Regions from separate parts of the Homo sapiens genome. Here regions 1 and 2 are each linked to region 3. The links are contacts of gene promoters, found by promoter capture Hi-C in blood cells and fetal thymus (Javierre and others, 2016). All regions are on one chromosome and are shown on one strand. The core of a region is centred on a gene start or on the middle of the fragment in contact, and the rest is flanking DNA. Distances in the headings are between cores, read along the strand shown.

Region 1 (2,700 bases), core at 188-2,687, 5.6 Mb after region 3:
AATTCTCTCACCTCAGCTTCCCCAGTAGCTGAAACCACAGGCTTGGGCAACCACGTCTGGCTCATATTTTTATTATTTGTAGAGACGGGGGTCTTGCAACATTGCCCAGGCTGGTCTGGATCTCCTGGAACCGCCTTTGCAAAATTATAACTGAGGAAATTATGGCAGTGAAAGAAATCAGACCTAACGGATTCCATCTTGCTTCTAACTTTTGTTTTTGAGACTAGTCTCGCTCTGTCGCCCAGGGTGGAGTGCAGTGGCGTGATCTCTGCTCACTGCAAGCTCCGCCTCCCGGGTTTAAGCCATTCTCCTGCCTCAACCTCAGGAGTAGATGGGACTACAGGCGCCCACCCCCACGCCCGGCTAATTTTTTGTATTTGTAGTAGAGACGGGGTTTTAGCCAGGATGGTCTCGATCCCCTGACCTCGTGATCCGCCCGCCTTGGCCTCCCAAAGTGCTGGGATTACAGGCGTGAGCCACCGGCCGCTTCTAACTTTTAAGCTGTCCTTCTTCATTCCTGAGCCTAGGCTGAACCAATTTAGGGAGGAATTCAGTTTATGGTTTGACTCTGAAACAAAATTGATAATATCCCTTTCCCAAAAAGACCGCTTTTTTGCCTGGGGACCAGTCTGCCTTTGCAGAACCAACAGATTAGCTACAAGATTAGAAATTACAGTTTAGAGGTCATGCAGCCTCTGGCTCCAAGTTTCTGAACCTCCCCAAATTGCTCCTGGGGATAACATCACTATTGTAAAACCTAAGATAAGTTCTTGAGATATTTTGCAGACCCTGCTCTCCATGGATCAGTTGAAACCACCCAGATTGGTAATTTGGCTCAACCAGTTCTGCCATCCTACCCAGGAACAGAAAACAGCAAGAAAAACTCACGTCTACCCACTATGAGTCCATCTCCAACCTGACCCATCAGCACTCCCTACTTCCCAAGCCCCTAATCGCCGAATTATCTTTAAAAACTCTGAATACTGCTTGGGGAGACTCCATTGCAAGTCCCCTGTCTTGATAAATGGGCTATCGGTCAGCAGCAGGCAAAGTGAACCACAATATTGGGTGGTTACACTCCTAGGATCAAGCAATCCTGCTGTCCGGCTTCCCAAAGTGCTGGGATTACAGGCGTAAGCCACCGCGTCCAGCTAGAACAAATGATTTCTTAAAAGCAACTCAGATATTTAAATATTATTTAAAACTGTTTCTAGACAAATCGGAGTGACTATGGGACAAGCATATGGTCGCAGGACTTTGGACGCAGGCAGTGAGGACACCTATGAGCGATCAGTGGGGTCCTACGGCAGCCGTGGAACTGCTCTGCCTTGCAGGCGAAAGTGTGGTCAGCTATATCGGAGCGCGATGGGGGCCTGAGAGGCGCATCTGCGCAGGCGCCCGGCTCCTAAGTCTACCCAGGAACTGACCCTGCTCTCTCCTTTCCCTGTTAGACATGGTAAGTGTGAGTTTAGCGCTGCTGTCCGGATGGGTTGGTAGCAGACAGGGTGGAGTAGGGTTAAGCACACTGGTCACCTTAGGATTGGTTTCCTGGTGCTGGAGAATGGTTAGGACACAGGCCTTGGAAGGTTTTTTGAGTGTGAAATATTACTCAGCGTTTTCTGCAGACCTCGCGGGCAATGCCGCTTCTAATTTTATCCAGGCCTTCTTCTGTAGGGAGGGCCTGTTAAGAGTTGAGCAGCCCGATTTCTGAACCCCTCTAAAAAGCTGTGGCTGATTGGTGGCTTTTTTTTTTCTTGGAGAGGGGGTGTCAAAGATTTCTTTAAAATCGTTAGTGATGTGGTCTCGCTTTAAGATTTTTAATGGGATCAGAAGAAAATTCGGTACTTAATCACTTCCGGTAATCTTCATGACCTGTTATAGTGACTGCAGTGTACTCTCAATGAGGAAGATATAGATACGAAAAGAACTAGAGCCGCATCACATGGGGACTTCTGCAAATACAGAGACTCGGATTAAAGGTGGAGAAGATGGAGCTAAAGGAACTGCTTATTTAATACATTTGAACAACTTTTGGGGTACTTAGAAGGTGCTTTGAAACCTGCATTTGATTAAGCAAGAATTCGCTTGCAAGTTAAGGGTTAGATTTTTTTATTTTTTAAAAATATGCTTTCTGCCACATGTAAACCGTAAGTTGTCCTGAAATGATAAGCTTTGATATTCTATGGTGTTTATTTTTTACTTATCTTTTTGAATGAAAAGTGAACAACAAGAAATGCTGGTGGTAATTTTTTGGGTCAATGATGAGTTGGCATGTATTCTGAATCTAAAGTTGATTATTACTACTTTAGCTCTAGAATTACTCTGAGACCTGAAAATTACCTGAATCGTGACTAAGACGAAGCCTGAATGATTTAAGTTCTTTTTTGTTGGATACAATTTGTTGTTGTTGTTGTTGTTTTGGTTTTGTTTTTGAGTCGGTCTCCGGTCGCCCAGGATGGAGTGCAGTGACACAACCTCAGTTCACTGCAGCCTTAATTTCCCTGGCTCAAGCGATCTTCTACCTCAGCCTCCCTAGTTAGTTACAATTTTTAAATGGAACGTTTTCCTATTACAAGATGAAATCAAGTGAAAATTGAGATGTATGTTGAATCTATGCTGTGGGGCAGAAGAACGTTGTAGAGGTAAACATTGATGAGATTACCACTTTATTTTGAAAGGGCACTCCACAGAAGGATGTTA
Region 2 (2,700 bases), core at 185-2,684, 6.7 Mb before region 3:
AGCCTTTATAGGTATATGGAAGATGGCGGTTACCACAACTACAACTTCTGTTAGCTCTGAAAGTCACTGGCATAATCTAGAGGAGAAGAGAATTTTATTTATGGATTTTTAATATGTTATAACCCATGAGTTATGGCCATAGATAGCAATTTTACAGTCAGATGTAGACTTCCTATTTAGATTATAAAATTTCTTGCCAGGCGCGGTGGCTCATGCCTATAATCCCAGCACTTTGGGAGGCCGAGACGTGCGGATCACCTGAGGTCAGGAGTTTGAGACCAGCCTGACCAACGTGGAGAAACCACGTCTCTACTAAAAATACAAAATTAGCTGGGGGTGGTGGTGCATGCCTGTAATCCCAGTTACTCGGGAGGCTGAGGCAGGAGAATCACTTGAACCCGGGAGGCAGAGGTTGCAGTGAGCCGAGATTACACCATTGCACTCCAGCCTGGGCAACAAGAGCCAAACTCCATCTCAAAAAATAATAATAATAATAAAATAAAATTTCTTTTTTTGAGATGCAGTCTTCCTCTGTCACCCAGGCTGGAGCACAGTGGCTCAATCTCGGCTTACTGCAGTCTCCGCCTCCCAGGTTCAAGCGATTCTCCTGCCTCAGCCTCCCAAGTAGCTGGGATTACAGGCGCAGGCCACCAGGCCCGGCTAATTTTTGTATTTTTAGTAGAGACAGGGTTTCACCATGTTGGCCAGGCTGGTCTTGAACTCCTGACCTCAGGTGACCTGCCCACCTCGGCCACCCAAAGTATAATTGTAAACCCAAATTACAGGTGTGAGCCACCACGCCAGTCTAGAATATAAAATTTCTTTGGAACTAAAAAGTTTGTATTGATGAACAAAAATCACCCTATACTATACTTGTGCACAATAATGTTCAATATAACTGACTCACTTATATCTGTATTTATTACCCTGATCTGGTTTCTATTTCCATGAGGATATTTCTTTAGTGAAATTGTTTTATACTTACTGGTCCTTATTACATTAAATTGTACAATATCCAGATTATCATTTTTTGATGCTGATTGGTGATGCGCAGATCTTGTGAATTTCTATAAAGATAGTTGGAACTATCCAATATAAGATTTTGTAATAGAATTTGGCAGTACAATTCAGGACAATTGTATCTTTTAAAATTATGTTAATTCCTTCTGTGGTGCTTAGGAAATTTATCATTGGTTCATTTTAGAAAATGTTATATTTCAGTATGCAGAGATTTATTTGCAAATTACCAAGTTACTTCTATTCAACTGTTCAAAATATCTGCAGTTGCTTTAACCATTTTATTTTAGAGTGATATGACATACATAAATATACAAAGCTTTTCTCACATGTACTTCTTTGCTCTTCATAGATAGAAGGATATGGTTAAAAATGAAGAGTAGTTTGACCATAGCATCTCTATAATAATCTTCTCTCACAGTATATTGACATTCTTGATTTTTAGCAGGACCATGCCTGCAAAGGGATACTTTATGTGCATATATTTGACATTTGGAACATGATTAATGTTTTTGAAAGCTTAGTACCTAGCAAAGATGAACATTTTAGATATCGTGCCTTATTGACATTGGTATTCTTAAATGAATGATTTTCTCATTTCATTAAGATATTTGTTTTTTAAATTCACACATTGTATGTATTTATGGGGTACAATTTGACATTTCAATACATTTATATGTTGTATAATGATCAAATCAAGGTAGTTAGTATATCCGTCGCTGCATGCATTTATCTTTTCTTTGTGGTGAGACCATTCAAAAGCCTCTCTTCTAGCTGTTTTGTAATATACAGTACCTTAATGCTAACTATAGTCACCATACTGTGCAATAGAATAGCAGAACCTATTTCCCACTATCTGATTGTAACTTTGTACCCATTGACCAACCTCTCCCCATCCTCCCCTACCCCCAGAGTACTTAGATAGTACTTAAGTTCCCCTTCCCAGTCTCTGGTAACCACTGATCTATTCTCTACTTCTAGGATATTAACTTTTTTTTTAAGATTCCACACAAGTGAGATACGCTGTATTTGTCTTCAGCGTCTAGCTTATTTCACTTAACATGTTGTCCTCCAGGTTCATCCATGTTGTTGCAGATGACAGGATTTCCTCCTTCTTTATGGCTGAATAGTCATTAAGGTATTTATTTAGCCAGAAAAAGTACTAATTTATACTTTTTGTGTTATCCTTTTGTCCCCCAAACAATTAAGTGGATGGTTGTTTTTAATCTTGTATTTCCTTTAGAAGCTTTTAGAAGCTCTTAAGTAATCAGATATTGTTAGTTATTTAAACCATGTAGGTTGAGAACCAAACTGTCAGAATAAGGAAAATCTATTTAATTCTGGTATTAATAATTAAAGAATGTTTAGGTGGTGGCATAAATATTTTTGTTTTTCAAAGTCAGGCCTATCTTGGTATCACTAGATAAGTCAACACCAAAGTAATGTACTGGTATATGTATAGTGTTTTGTAAATATCATAATACATAATGATTTGAAGAAAAAAATGCGCTTAAGTACAAATTCCAGGTGTTACAATCACAAATAATACTTGTCTTGTTGGGCAGCTCTTCAGCATGCAGGAAGAAATCCATCCCAAAAGACCATTAATAAGTATTGGACTCCTCAAACTGCCAAACTGAATTTTGATGATTTTTGTATAATTTTAAGGAAGGAAAAACCTAC
Region 3 (2,700 bases), core at 35-2,534:
AGACATTGTGCCAGGTTCTGGACTGACCCAGGAAGCTCACAACTTTGAGTGATACATGTCAATAATAAATACATGTATCTTCTGTTACTTAGCAGAAAAGAGGAAGCCCTAACAGCTTGCAGAAGTCATAGCAGTGAGGGAAGGAATGCTCTACAGAAGATGACAGATAAGATGAGTGATGTTATTAATAACTTGTGTATCGGCACAGAGACATTATGGTTTTTGTCATGTTTGGGGCACTACAAGTCACTGGACTACACACTGGATGCAGTTGAGAGAATAGTTCAGATGAGGTTGAAAACAAAAGCAAGGATTTTTTTAATAGTCAAAAGCTTCAAAATTATTTTAAGCAAGAATATGTATGTGAAACAAGTTTTTCTTGAGAAATTGCAGTATTTTCTTTAGAAATATATACTTGAATATATTTAAGTACTATAAACTGTGTTTCCAAAGTCAGCTATTGTGGAATTGGCTGGGTGCAGTGGCTCACGCGCCTGTAATCCCAGAACTTTGGGAGGCCAAGGCGGGTGGATCACCAGAGGTCAGGAGTTGGAGACCAGCCTGGCCAACATGGTGAAACCCCATGTCTACTAAAAATACAAAACTTAGCCTGGCGTCGTGGCAGGCGCCTGTAATCCCAGCTACTCCCGAGGCCTAGGTAGGAGAATGGCTTGAACAGGGGAAGTGGAGGTTGCAGCGAGCCAAGATGGTGCCACTGCACTCCAGCCTGGGCGACAGGGCGACTCTGTCTCAAAAAAAAAAGTCATCCATTGTGAATGAATGTACAAAACGCTTATTAATAAGTGTAATATTAAAATATATCTTTTCTGAAAGTTTTAGTGACAAAACAAATTAGTTACAGATTTAATGTTACCAAAATTCATGTACATTGAAAATTTCGGGACATTTTATACTGGTGGTGGTGGGGTGGCATCTTAGCTTGGGTTTAAATATCATTAGTAATCGGATAGCTCTGTAGATGATTATCAGTATATAAAGACATCGTGAGCAGTATTTAATAAGAAGAGTTGCTGAAGTGACTTTTGCAGGAGGATGAATGCTTTTTTTAAAAAAAAAGTTTATACGTGCCTCTTCGCTCTTCCAAAAAAAAAAGAGAGAAGAAAAAGAAGAATAAAACGAGAGACGAAGGTGGATAACACCTTTCTCTAGACCCCGGTGCCTCTCATTTCTCGGGCTGCAGGCGACGGCTGCTGGGCCTGCGCGGGGTGGAGCCGACGCTGACGCGCCCTGCGCCGCAAAGCATTGTGGGAGCTCGGGCCCGCTAGTGTCGTGGTTGGAGGCGAGGTGGGGCGGCCGTTTGTTTTCTCGTGGTCTCGAGCTCGCGCGCTCTCATCCCCTCCCCCGCGGCGTGCGGCGGGGCGGAGAAACGGCGGCGGCGGCGGCGGCATCGGCAGCAGTAGCAGAGGCTGTAGCATCGGACACCCTCCTCTCTCCCGCAATCCGGTTCCTCTTCCCCCTCCTTCTCACTGTTTGTTGTGTGTTTGATGTGTTAAAGCAGGAGCGAGAACCCGAGCAGCGCCATGAGCAACACTACCGTCGTCCCCAGCACTGCAGGTCCGGGCCCCAGCGGCGGGCCCGGTGGCGGAGGTGGTGGTGGCGGCGGAGGCGGCGGCACCGAGGTAATCCAGGTGACTAATGTCTCCCCGAGCGCTAGCTCTGAGCAGATGCGGACTCTCTTCGGTTTCCTAGGCAAGATCGACGAACTGCGCCTCTTCCCGCCGGAGTGAGTATCGTCCACCATCACTGTTCCTGCTAACGCCGCCTCAGCCTGGGCCTAACACACACAATTTCCTTAGGCCCCTGTCGCTGCTTCCCCGGGCCAGGCTGCTTGAGTGGCTGGTGGCTGGTGGATTTACTTAAGACGGTTGTGTTCCAGGCCTACAAAAAAATGCAGAGAGGCAGGGCCAGGGCTTTTTGGAATTAGGAAACACTGGCTGTTATTCTCGGGAAATTTTTTTTTTCCGCCTTAAATTGTGCCAACGTGGTCGTTTGGCTTTGGGGACTTAACGCAAGACTAACCGCAGTCTGTACGTCGTATATAGGTTAAATCCCTTTTTTAAAAAACTGAGTATTTGTTCTTTGCGTTCTTGGAAGAAAGGTAACAAAATTATTCATGCCTGTGTTAATTTGGTGTTAAACTTTGTAGGTTGTTCACTTATTGTTATTGCTGTTATGTGGTTCTGGCCCAGCAATATAATTCAAAGATCATATTCTTTTTGACAGACGCTTAGTTTAGTGTGAGCCTGATTACTTAATTTGTATAATGTCAAAAAACGGGTTATAAACCAGAGATTTTCCTTTGTTTGAATAATATACAGATTTGTGATATTTCACAGTTGTTCTTGAGAAGGATTTTTATAAATGTTGAAATTTGAATTAGAGTGTATGACTTTTTATCCTTTTTGTCTCACTTTTATTTTGAAAATTATTTCTATCGCAAGAATATTAAGTGGATGAATTGTAAAGAAAAAATAGTTCAAAGAAGCTAAGAAGTAAGATAAAGTGTACTACTAAAACAGACAATTGGAATAATAATAATAGTCTTGTGCTTTTTGGAAGACTTATTGGTGGAGAAGTGACAATTCAAATGTCATTATCAGTAAATATCATATATTGAGAATTTTATGATGTCACTTAAATACTAAACAGGAAATTGGAATCCTCTAAGAATCTACTGTT

What was found. Contacts are between HindIII fragments. The CHiCAGO score rates a contact against its expected background, and 5 or more counts as called.
Region 1: a contact is called between the fragment with the promoter of RABGGTB here and the fragment with the promoter of SRSF11 in region 3, in 9 of 17 cell types (total CD4 T cells, naive CD4 T cells, non-activated CD4 T cells and 6 more). The highest score is 19.0, in total CD4 T cells.
Region 2: a fragment that was not itself captured here is called in contact with the fragment with the promoter of SRSF11 in region 3 in 1 of 17 cell types (total CD8 T cells); the score reaches 5.2 in total CD8 T cells.

The regions. Positions count from the first base shown.
Region 1 is chr1:75,784,819-75,787,518 of GRCh38, forward strand. RABGGTB (Rab geranylgeranyltransferase subunit beta) reads left to right here and starts at 1,438. Exons shown (of 9, transcript NM_004582.4): 1 at 1,438-1,456; 2 at 2,679-2,700. The coding sequence starts at 1,454. It overlaps SNORD45C (small nucleolar RNA, C/D box 45C), which reads left to right and starts at 2,254; the gene lies at 2,254-2,331. RefSeq lists enhancers at 20-239, 1,180-1,409 and a silencer at 1,470-1,529. The HindIII fragment of the contact is 7,492 bases long and covers 1-2,168 here.
Region 2 is chr1:63,529,238-63,531,937 of GRCh38, forward strand. EFCAB7 (EF-hand calcium binding domain 7) reads left to right here. Exons shown (of 14, transcript NM_032437.4): 3 at 2,583-2,700. It also overlaps the pseudogene RN7SL488P. Among named protein-coding and RNA genes, the nearest start is that of EFCAB7, 7.1 kb to the left of the region's middle. The HindIII fragment of the contact is 200 bases long and covers 1,335-1,534 here.
Region 3 is chr1:70,220,096-70,222,795 of GRCh38, forward strand. SRSF11 (serine and arginine rich splicing factor 11) reads left to right here and starts at 1,285. Exons shown (of 12, transcript NM_001350605.2): 1 at 1,285-1,744. The coding sequence starts at 1,542. RefSeq lists an enhancer at 1,179-1,724 and a silencer at 1,620-1,669. The HindIII fragment of the contact is 2,724 bases long and covers 331-2,700 here.